Regions from separate parts of the Homo sapiens genome. Here all the other regions are linked to region 4. The links are contacts of gene promoters, found by promoter capture Hi-C in blood cells and fetal thymus (Javierre and others, 2016). All regions are on one chromosome and are shown on one strand. Each heading gives the region's core, a stretch centred on a gene start or on the middle of the fragment in contact. The rest is flanking DNA. Distances are from core to core; before and after follow the strand shown. Region 1 overlaps DLG2 (discs large MAGUK scaffold protein 2). Region 2 overlaps DLG2 (discs large MAGUK scaffold protein 2). Region 3 overlaps DLG2 (discs large MAGUK scaffold protein 2). Region 4 holds the start of FAM181B (family with sequence similarity 181 member B).

Region 1 (2,700 bases), core at 184-2,683, 1.1 Mb after region 4:
TAACACCTGCAAAAGGAAATACTGAATCAATACCATTTTTCACATAAATGCCCTAATTCCCAGTGAACCTTATTATTTTGTTCAAACAAGTTCAGTTGGCTAAGTTCTGGGTCAAAGTTATTAACTAGGAATTTGTCTAAATAGTATACAGATTTGAAAGCAATAAGGATGTTCATTTCTACATATCCTATAATATTCACTAATTTGGTTTAGTTTACATAAACTAATCTGAGTGAGATTGTAATGTAAGTGAAAAGGGTTCTTGTTTCCTTTTTTCCTCATACACAATTAATCTTGTTCATAAGCTTTGGAATCAATTTTAAAGGAAGGAATAATGCTGCCTCCAGAGACATATCTGTCAAACAGTCCACTCCTAAAACATCTGAAAGGCTTGAGCAGGAATAATATATTAATGGAATTAATCTTGGTCAAAATCTGTTAATGCAAAACTCAAACTCTGGCTGCTGCATGTGGGACTCATCTGATGTTTTTTTCATCGTAGTTCCTCAAGTTGATGACATTCTTTTGTGTTTGGGCTTATGTGTATCTTGGCATCTGGCTGTTGCCCATAATTACATCTTAGTATTTCTTTGACTTATTCCTCATCTAAAAATAAGGTAATCATCTCATTGCCTAAAAGCTCCCAAGAAACAGGTTTTGTGAGTTTAGGCAAACTGTGTCAAGAACTCTTAAGTCCCCTCTTCCCAATTACTTTCATCAAATCTTCCCAATTGCAATCAGTCAAATCTTTTTGGGAAGTCAAAATCTTCCCAACTGCAATCAGTCAAATCAAGAGGAGGAGATCTGAATAAACAGAGATGCATGAAAATCAACTTGTATTCACCACTATGAATGAGAAATAATATTTATTAAACTATTTCTCTTCAAAATATCTGTTGCTTTTGTTTTTTCCTTTCTAATTTACTATGCTAGTTCTAAGCATTGATCTGAACTATTGAAACAGGCCCTGTTTCCTGTTTATTTTGAAAAATTTCAAATTATAGAAAACTTGAAGAACATTATAATAAAAACTCATAAAGATTCAACAGTTCTTAACATTTTGGTACATTTGTTCTCCCTCTCTTCCTCCTTCTCACTCTCTCCACTTACCTACCTATCTGCCTAGCAGAAGACACACACACACACACACACACACACACAGACACACACTTTTTCTGAACCATTTGAATTATGTTGCAGACGTCATTCCACTTTCAATCTAACATATCAGCAAGGCATCTTCCCAGTGTAAAGACATTTTCTGTATAACCACAATGCCATTATTACTCCAGAGAAAGCAAACAAAACTAATATTTCTATAACATTTAATATATTGCACCTATTCAAATTTCCTCCGTTATCCTCCAAATGTCTTTTACAGATTTTTTTCTTAAATCCAGGATTTAAGTTTTATGCATTGCATTTGGTTGTTACTATGTCTTTAGTCATTATTAGTCTTGAACATTACCTACATTTTTCTTTAAATAAAATTTACTCTTTTTTTAAAAATAATTTCAGTCAGATGCTTATAGAGTGTTCTGCATTTTGAATTTGTCTGATTGTTTCTTCAGAATCAGGTGAAACATTTTTAGCAAAATCCAGTGTGTAATGAATGCTGTGTATTTCTTACTGCGTCATAGCAGGAAGCTCAAAATACATGGACCACCAGATCTCTTCATTTAAAAGGCACCTTTCTATTTTGCAAATAACAATCTATAAGGTGGTTTATTTGAGACCATGTAAATATCCTTTTTCCAGTCAACTTTAACCCCTAATTGTTTTAGCATCTATGGATTATGCTTTCTTGAAATAGTTATTTTGTAGCGGGTTAAAAAATGGTTATTTTATAAATTCTTTATTTATTCTAGAATTATTAGCTGGTATTATTTTGTGCAGGAGAGCTTCTCCCATATATATATATAATTTTTCTCTATCATTCTGGATTTATTTTTGATATATCATGACATAATTTTTTATATATCATATTAGAATGTTTTTGATATATAATATTGTTCTTTTTGATATATCATATATTTGGTTTTTTGATATAGCATGATATTATATCTCATTACCATGTGGTAGACTTCTAATTGATGTTAGCTTTTCCTCTAATCTCTGTCTCTCTCCCATCCTCCCTCTCCCTTTTGTCTACTCTCAATACCTTGATAGTCATCTTGTATATCACAACCACTCTACTTTTCTTTAAATACTGCCTTTCACATTTTATACATGCCACAGATGCTCATATTCATCTGTGTTCCTAACTGCTTGTAAATTATGTGCAAATTTCTTAGCCCTATATTTAAGCCCTTTCACAATGCAGCTTTTACCACAACCCTCTCTAGTCTTTTTAAGACCAGATACTTCTCTGATATGAGGGAACGTTAGAGTGGATTCTGTCTAGTCCTCCCATATCATTGGTGGAAAAAGTGAGGCACAGAGAATGAAGTTATTTTCCAAGGTCACTCAGTGTATTTGTAGTAGAGTCCAGATGAGAATGCTAGAGTTCAATGTCCTACATTACACGCCTCCTCTCCTAAGCAAACCCTCTGCTGCTGCTAGAAGCTTCATGTCCATCCCTAGCCTAATGTTATTCCCTTGGGCCTAACTTCCTCCTCCTTGTTTTACTTCCTGTTTTCCTGGATTCTTTGAAGTCTTGGCCTTCTCCCTTGTCCAGGTCAGGTTCTATCTTCCCAGACC
Region 2 (2,866 bases), core at 306-2,805, 1.1 Mb after region 4:
ATGAGTCATTCATTCATTCATTCATTCATTCATTCGTTCATTAAACATTTGCTCAGTAGCTCCGTTCTAAGTTAATCAACAAGGGAGCAGAGATGAATAAAACACAGTTTCATCCTCAAGGGAAGCTTCAAAGGATCTGAACGTTGCTTCTAAGTGCCTCAATCTTACAGCCTTCGTATACAATGGCTTCCTGTGGTGACTCATATGTCTCCTTTTAAATGCTCTTTTTTTAGGCATTTATGCTTTTTTCATTAACTAGACTTTGAGTATGGACTGCCTCAGACATAAGTAAACTGCCAAATTCAATTCTTTGGTGAAGGCCTGCATCGCAGAAAGAGCATAGCTTTGAAATCAGAAGCAACAGTATTCCAAATACCACCATCATTACTGATTATCTGTGTGATCTTGGACAAATTATTTAATTTCTCTGAGCCTTCAATCCAACAAGGTTGTTAGGACAATTCAGTGAAATCACAGCGCAGTATCCAGCAAAATGCTTTGTGCTGAGCATATATTCAATAAAGGTTAGGCATTTTATCTCCAATTCTCTACTGGTTTTGCTTTCTAGGGGCCCTCTTTGTTGGGAAGTTTCCCCTCCAGAATCCTTCTTACTTCCCCAGGCTGAGCTAAGGATGGTCTCTTCTTTACGCCCATGTGGTCCCTGGAACTTACCGTTAGCATTTCCATGTTATATTGGAAATAATCTATTTATTTGTCTGTCTCCCTTCATGAGGCTACATGTTCACTGAGGACACAATGATTTTTTTCACGTTGCATCCTTAGTGTCTAGTAGCTTTTGGTACTTTGTGAATGTCTCTGAGCTCTGCAAACAAGATTTTAAGGTGAAAATTTACTTCCGTCAAATAAAATACTTGCAAGAGGTTTTCTGGAGATTATGACAGAATTTTCAAAAAATATGTTTCACTTGATAGTAATTTATATCCAAAGACTAAAAAAGTTATTTTGTTAAATAATGTTAAAAAACACTTTATCAGCATTTAAAAAATTTGCTGCAGGACTTCTCAGATCTTTCATTGAATTATGAACCTTTTTTATGAAGCATTTCACACATCCGCTATTATACACAGTTTTGGAAGTACCACTGCGAGAAAAGCTGGTGTTTTACTGGTGCACTGAGTTAAGTTTCAGACTTTTGAAAGCTGCTTACAGTTAAATCCTTTGAGTAGTGATATTGTGAGTCAGGTGTTACAAGTCTGATGTTAAGTACATGGTTCCCAATGTACTATTTTCACTGCACCTTGCTAAGTTGTGACATATAGTATGTTTATGACACATTGAATAAGCAAGACTTAAGGAATATAACTGGAAAGGAGCAATGTTAATTTTGTTTCCCTACACAGTTTGCTGAGTGCCCACAGATTTTATTGTTTTTCTTTTTGTTGTTGTTGTTTTTGTTTTTTATATATACACATATATATACACACATATATATACACATATATATAGACATATATATACACATATATATATACACACACACACACACACACATATATATATATATATATATTTTTTTTTTTTTTTTTTTTTTTTTTTGAGATGGAATTTCACTCTTGTTGCCCAGGCTGGAATGCAATGGCATGATCTTGGCTCACCGCAACCTCCGCCTCCCAGGTTCAAGCGATTCTCCTGCCTCAGCATCCTGAGTAGCTGGGATTATAGGCATGCACCACCACGTCCGGCTAATTTTGTATTTTTAGTAGAGATGGGGTTTCTCCATGTTGGTCAGGCTGATCTCAAACTCCCCACCTCAGGTGAACTGCCCAACTCAGCCTCCCAGAGTGCTGAGATTACAGGTGTGAGCCACTGTGCCCGGCCTAATTACTGCTTTTCTTTAACATATATTATACAGCCGGATTCTATGTCAGACAATGGGGATGCTGTTTAAGTGACGCTTGGGGCAATTCATGAGTTCTCTGGTCCCTTTTAGATAATGGAGGGTTTTTCCTTGTCTACTCCAAGTTCCTTTTCGAGGAAATTCAGTGAACAAGATGGAGGTAGGAGGGAGCTCAGCACAGAGGGGACAGGGCTGCTGCTCCGTCCCCACTCAGTGATATGGCTCTTCCTTTTTGTACAACAGTGAAACACACTTGTGTGTGGTTTGTTAGTAAATAACTGCTGTCCTGAGCCCTCCTGAGTGACCCACAACTCTGGCTCCCTAGAAGTCCCCACTGCCCTGCTGTCTGGCATCTGTGGCACTACGGCCATTCATTGTGTGGATGGGTGCCAGGGTTATGCCAAGGTGTGAAAATTTTGAATAGCATCCCTGACCATAGGTAAAGAAAAATCCAGAGTGGCTGAAGCATCAGTGAGAGTAGGGGAAGTATTGTGGATGGGGCAGGCTGTCCAGGCAGGCAGGGGCCAGACTCTGCAAAATTCTGTGGGCTGTGTTAACAATTTTAGGCTTTAAGAACAGCAGGACACCATTGAAAGGCTTTAAAGAGAGCAGGAAAAGGATATGATTAGATAGGCTTTTTGTACAGTTTCCTCTTTCCAAAGGCTGGAAGTCTGTATGTGATGGGTGATGTTTATATGCACTAGGCAATCATCAGGAATAAAGAACTCTGCCCATAGTCAGGCCCTGCTGAATACCCACACTCTGGTGGCTGGGCCAGGAGGTACAGCCTGGCTAGTGGGGCTCTGAAGCCAAGGCTGAGCAAGAGTGACTCCCCTGGAGCCTCTTCACAAGCCATATCTGTTTTCATTTGAGGTGGTCTTGTGATCAGGTGAGCAGTGAGTTCTGAGCTGTGCAGGAAGAAAGATCCAGTAAGGTAGGGAGAAGTCTAAATGGGCTCTACAATTAAGAGAGGCAAAAGCCAGAAATGACTGAAGAGTCAATGTGTCT
Region 3 (2,700 bases), core at 111-2,610, 1.1 Mb after region 4:
ACCTCACCTACCTCTCCACCACTTAACTTCATTGTGCCCCTTTGTATTTCATATTTCAGCCTTACAAAGTTGCCAACCACAGCTTCTCATCCCAGGTTGTTCCTCCTTGTCTTTGCCCAGGCTGTTTGCTGTTTGCTTTGGCTAGAAGGATGCCTGCCTTTTCCTGCTATTCTCATCTATCTAACGAGGTCCTACTTGGCCTTTAAGACTGAGGCCAGGTACAATCTCCTCTCTGCTGTCCCCTCTACCCTCACCTCCAGAAGAACTGACTTTTTTGAAACCACATTGTCCTTTCATTGATCACACCACTATCACTGCCTTTACTGTTCTGAAATAAATTTATTTACCCATCCATCTATGCTGTCAATCTGTATGGTCCTGAAAGACAAAGATAAAGGACTTTTAGGTCCTTGTTTTGTGTAATTTTGGAAGCGGGTACAGGCTGAGCATATAAGAGACATACAAACAAAAATATTGTTTCATGAACGGAAAAAAAAGTGAGTGGTTGGGAAAAATGATACTGAGTTCTAGTTCTGGCTCTCTTGGGATATGTGGGAAGCCAGGATTGTCCTCTACAGGTCGGGTTCCTTGCTTGGGTAATGGAGGGAATAATGTTTGTCTCATGGGGAAGTGTTGAAATTCCGATAAGACAATGAACTAAAGGCATCTAGAAAACTGAGAAGTTTTAAAGAAAATTAAATATTGAGATGCTATTTCCAGTAATTTGGCATATTAGATATTCTGAAAACCCCTTTCATTACAAAGCAGCTAAAAATTCTGAATAAAATAGTTATAAAATACTTTTAAATGCTTGGCTAAGCTTGCAAGTAAGAGAAATCTTCAGAGGATGAAAATGAAGCAGAAATGCAAACTCAGAAGAAAGCAAGTACTGAGAATAGCAGCAGACTGAAGAGTGATGAGCTAGTGTGTTAGTGTCTAGATTTGATGGCTGCATGAATAGGACTGTGTGAGCCCAGTGGTGGGATTAGATCAGAGACACCTGAGCAAAATTAGGACCCTGTGAGGCTACACCCCAAACAAAAGGATAAAGTACAAAAATATTAGCACTTCAACAATATCCAGGATACATATCTATCCTGATTTTGGCTCATAGGGTAAAAAAAAGGGCCTGGGGGCCAGGCGCGGTGGCTCACGCCTGTAGTAATCTCAGTACTTTGGGAGGCCGAGGCGGGTGGATCACTAGAGGCCAGAAGTTCCAGACCAGCCTGGCTAACATGGTGAAACTCCATCTCTATTGAAAAAAAAAAAAAAATTAGCTGGGCATGGTGGTGCATGTCTGTAATCCCAGCTACTTGGGTGGCTGAGGCACGAGAATTGCTTGAACCTGGGAGGCGGAAGTTGCAGTAAGCCAAGATCGCATCACTGCACTTTAGCTTAGGCAACAGAGTGAGAGTCTGTATCAAAAAAAAAAAAAAAAAAAAAAAGGGCCTGGGGAACTAATCAAGGCATGTTTGAATGTCAAATAAGTTACACTTGCAAACAGAATTGATAAAACTGAATAAATTGGGAGAATAAAGGAGGGAGAGTCCACCTGAGTCGTAGAAGAAAGATCTTCGCAATAGATCTCCAGAGCTGTGAGGTCGAGGTGATCTCCAGCTCCAGCTGCAGGTGGCTAACATAAATGTGCTGTCCTGGTGGTAGGGGTAACGTATGAGATGGGCTCATCTGGCCATCCTAGCTCAATGACAGTAGTCATTAGGGTCACTTGGGTGGCTAATTTCCCTCTCAGAGTCCAGGCTCACCAAGCCTCCAGCTCATTAAAAATATAATTTATCCTAGTGTTTTTCCTATTGAGAGCAATGTGCTAGTTATAGCACATTCTGGTATCTTGAGTAGTTACATTTTGCATCATATATTAAAAACATGGTATTACAGCATATAAGCTTGATTACTCCTGGATACACTGACAAAAACTGAGTTCCAGAGACTGTAGATGGAAGGCCCAGATCTAGTATAACGACAACCCAAAAAGGGTCTATTACCCGTGGAAGTCATATGGGAAGTCTACAGCTAGTCTTCCTGAATCCTTTTTCCTTCATTTCTCTATTAAATGCAACTACGTTCACGTGAACAATGTTATTAAAAAGAGGAGATACTTGTAGGAGATCAAAAAGATCTTTTTAGTAGAATGAGAAGACATGTATTAGGAAACTTGTGAAGAGAGGGGCATACCAAAGGTGGTCACATGGAAGACAACAACAGAAGGCTTCAAAGCTGCTGGTTGATTACAACCTTCTTATATCTAAATGAGCTAGCTCCTCAGAAGGATGCAGTATAATGTGTGCCTCATATTTAAATAGTTAATTTGGTCAGTTAGCCAAATAATCAGTCAAACAGATTATTGGGCATCATACAGATACACAAAGATAGAGGGTTTTGTTGAACTGCTATTTGAGGACATGTTATTAAAATAATAGAAAGAAATCTGTCATCATAAGGGGGGATCTATGCATTAAATATACAATATAGAGCAGGCTGACTTCAGCAAAATAATAACCACACTGATACAGAGTTTATACTAAACATACTGTGGTTGGTACTGTGTGGGATAAAACAACCCTACTAGAGGGGGATGGTATGGGATACTGTGATATTGGGAAAGAGTATGGGCATTGGAGCTACATAGATCTAGGCTTGAATCATAATCCTACCAATAAATACTTGAGTAACCTTGGTGTA
Region 4 (2,749 bases), core at 28-2,527:
GGCGCAGTCTGGAAAGAAGGGGGCGAAAGAGGCCAAATGGCCCCGCCCGTCCTCCCCGCCGGGAGAATCCGCAGCGGCGGGGTACAGGGGGCTCAAGGGCTCGTTCAAGGTCAAGCCGCCGCGGGGGGCAGTCAGGGGGCTCTTTTTGGTCGGGGAGCAGCCCGGGACGCTCCAGGGCTCGGGGTACAGTAGGTTTCCCACCACTGCCGGCGGCGGCTCAAAGAGGCCGGGCTCCAGCTCCGGGGGTCCCCGCAGTACGGAGGCTCCGGCGGGGAACACGTCGAGAGGCTCGGCGGCAAGCAAGACTGCCGCCTCCGTGCCGGCGCCGTAGTCGGGCCCCAGCAGCTCAAAGAACTCCACGGCCTCCGCGCCCTTCTCCAGGTCGCCCAAGCTCACGTCCGGCCCCGACGGGCCACACCCGCCGCCGCCTGCCCGGGACGGCTCCGTGAAGAAGGACGGAGGCAGATTGCGTGCCCGCAGCGGGACCTTCCTGGCCCCTGGGATCGCCGTGGCCCCCGCGGGGCCTGCCACGTCCCCTCCCGCGCCCCCAGTGCCCGCACCTCCTAGCCCGGCCGCCGGCGCAGCCACCTCACCCCCCGCCGGCTCGGCACCCCCGGGGACGTGGCGCAGCGAGTCGAAGAGCGCGGCCAGACTTCGGCTTTGCAAGCTGGCGGCCGCGGCGGCCTGCGACGCCTCCCGCCGGGGGGCAGCCTTGCCGTGGGCCGGGGCCGCGACTGTCGGGGCGCTAGGGGCGGCCAGCGGCCGTTTGGCTGGCGTGTCGGCGGCGCTCGGGGAGGGCGGGCCGGGGGGCGCGGCGCCCATGAGGCCGCTGCAGCGCTTGATCTGCTTCTGCAGGTACTTGCGGTGGTTCACCTTCCGCTTCGACTTGCCCGGCTTGTCCAGCGCCAGCTTGATGTTGCTGGACGCCGAGTCAATGAAGCTGAGTAGATCGCGGGTGGCCTCGCGCACGTCCCCTCCTTCGGCTCCCGACAGCAGCGCACCCGCCGGAGCCCCGGTCTCATCGTCCTCGAAACAGCAGCCCTTGTCCAGGGCTCCGAAGGCGCCCCCTAGCCCGTCCGGGGAGCCCCCGAAGCCGAAGGGCACGAAAGGGTGCGTGCTGAGGAGCGCCGCCTGCACCGCCATCGCCGCGGCTCCCGGGCTGTCCGCAGCGCTGCCCGTGCGCCCCCGCCAGCTCCTGCCCGCCGCCCAGACCCAGCTCCCGCCCCGGCGCGGCGCGCGCGGCGCAGCCTACTAGTTCCGGGCCTGGCTCGCTGCGCTGCCTCCCGGGGGAGCTCATTAGGTCTTGTAAGCAAGGGGCGGAGGGAGGGAGCGCGCGGCGACCGTCCCGGTGGTAGAGGGGAGGGGCTTACTTAGCCTGGCTTGGAGGAGTGGGGGGTCGCTTTAGTTTTCTGAGCTTTCTGAAGCTCAACGCCTTAACTCCTTCGTTTCCCTTTGCCCCGTGGTGTTTCTCTTGACTCCTCTAACCGCAAGGGGTGAGGAAGAGATGGCTGGTCTCAAACTCCAGTTCAGGCCCATGAGGCCGCTGCAGCGCTTGATAGGCTTCTGCAGGTACTTGCGGTGGTGCCTCTCCTGAGGCAAGAAGGCAGGAGTCTAGAGACGTGGGTTTCAGTCCAGCTGTATAACAACACCCACCAGCTTCTGGGCGCTTGCTTCTGCCAGGCGCTGTCCATCTATTATCTCATTTAATCCTTGAACAACAGCCCTGTGAATTACATGTTATCGCCATTCAACAAACGTGGACACTGCACCTCAGGGAGGTTCAGTGAGTTGGCCAAAGTCAGATCTAGCCCATTCTGACTCCAAAGCCATTCCTAAGCCCTTGACAATACTTGCGTCCTCTCTTGCCCTTGCCTTTCTCATCTATTAAGATGGGGAAGGAAAATGAGTATTTCTTAAAGCTCTAGACCTGATCCTAAGATTCTAACCTGAGTTTTCCCAGGATTCTCAAGCCCAGTGCTCTTTCTTCTTGACTGTTTGCCACTTGATTGTTACGAGTAACAATTGGCTAACAGTAAATTGAGGCCAGCAGTGGCCCATCTTTTATTAACACATAGCAGGAGGCAATGGAGAAAGGAGTCGATCTGGCTAAGCCCCCTGTTACTTGAGAACACTGTGTGTGTATAAAACTCTCAGCATGTTAGAATAAAAGATGGATTGGAACCTCTCCCCTACCTGTCATACCATTTAGGTTATCCCTGGAATTTTCATTGCATTTCAGGGATCATCATGAAGTTCACTTAAAACTAATTTCACCTGGGCAATCCTCTTTGGGATAGATAGAGAAAATGAGCAATAAGGTCATTTTCACAAGAGATTCAGAAGAGGCTTGGGTTCTGGTCTTAGCCACCACTCAATAACCTCATGACTTAGGTTGAAATCCTTGCTCTGCTGAGTGCATGGCTTTAGACAAACCAGCGTACTCTCTCTGTTTAGCTTACTCATGTTAAATGCAGGTAAAGTTGCCCTCCCCACAGGGCACTTGTGATATTTAAATGATACATTGTTCCATAGCCTGGATGAGTATTCACCCTTACTTCTCTGAAACACAAAAAGGTGACTATATCCCTTACGTGTCTTCTGGATCATAGGGTGTTCATGAGCATTAAGTGAGATCATAGATGCTTCTCAATTTGTGATAGAGCAACAACATCCTGATAAACACATTGTAAGTTGAAAATATTGTAGGTTAAAATGCATGTAATACACTGATTCAAGTTGGAAAATCATA

What was found. The method cuts DNA at HindIII sites, captures the fragments that hold promoters and counts their contacts. A CHiCAGO score of 5 or more calls a contact.
Region 1: a fragment that was not itself captured here is called in contact with the fragment with the promoter of FAM181B in region 4 in 2 of 17 cell types (naive B cells and total B cells); the score reaches 5.7 in naive B cells.
Region 2: a contact is called between a fragment that was not itself captured here and the fragment with the promoter of FAM181B in region 4, in 8 of 17 cell types (total B cells, naive B cells, M2 macrophages and 5 more). The highest score is 10.7, in total B cells.
Region 3: a contact is called between a fragment that was not itself captured here and the fragment with the promoter of FAM181B in region 4, in 1 of 17 cell types (naive B cells). The highest score is 5.3, in naive B cells.

Annotation. Positions count from the first base shown.
Region 1 is chr11:83,803,448-83,806,147 of GRCh38, forward strand. All of the region lies in intron 17 of DLG2 (discs large MAGUK scaffold protein 2), which reads right to left. Among named protein-coding and RNA genes, the nearest start is that of DLG2-AS2, 170 kb to the left of the region's middle. The HindIII fragment of the contact is 2,260 bases long and covers 304-2,563 here.
Region 2 is chr11:83,823,642-83,826,507 of GRCh38, forward strand. The region is part of intron 17 of DLG2 (discs large MAGUK scaffold protein 2); the gene reads right to left. Among named protein-coding and RNA genes, the nearest start is that of DLG2-AS2, 190 kb to the left of the region's middle. The HindIII fragment of the contact is 2,865 bases long and covers 124-2,866 here.
Region 3 is chr11:83,843,126-83,845,825 of GRCh38, forward strand. All of the region lies in intron 16 of DLG2 (discs large MAGUK scaffold protein 2), which reads right to left. Among named protein-coding and RNA genes, the nearest start is that of DLG2-AS2, 210 kb to the left of the region's middle. The HindIII fragment of the contact is 1,084 bases long and covers 819-1,902 here.
Region 4 is chr11:82,732,587-82,735,335 of GRCh38, forward strand. It overlaps FAM181B (family with sequence similarity 181 member B), which reads right to left and starts at 1,278. Exons shown (of 1, transcript NM_175885.4): 1 at 1-1,278. The coding sequence starts at 1,143. The HindIII fragment of the contact is 9,040 bases long and covers 1-2,749 here.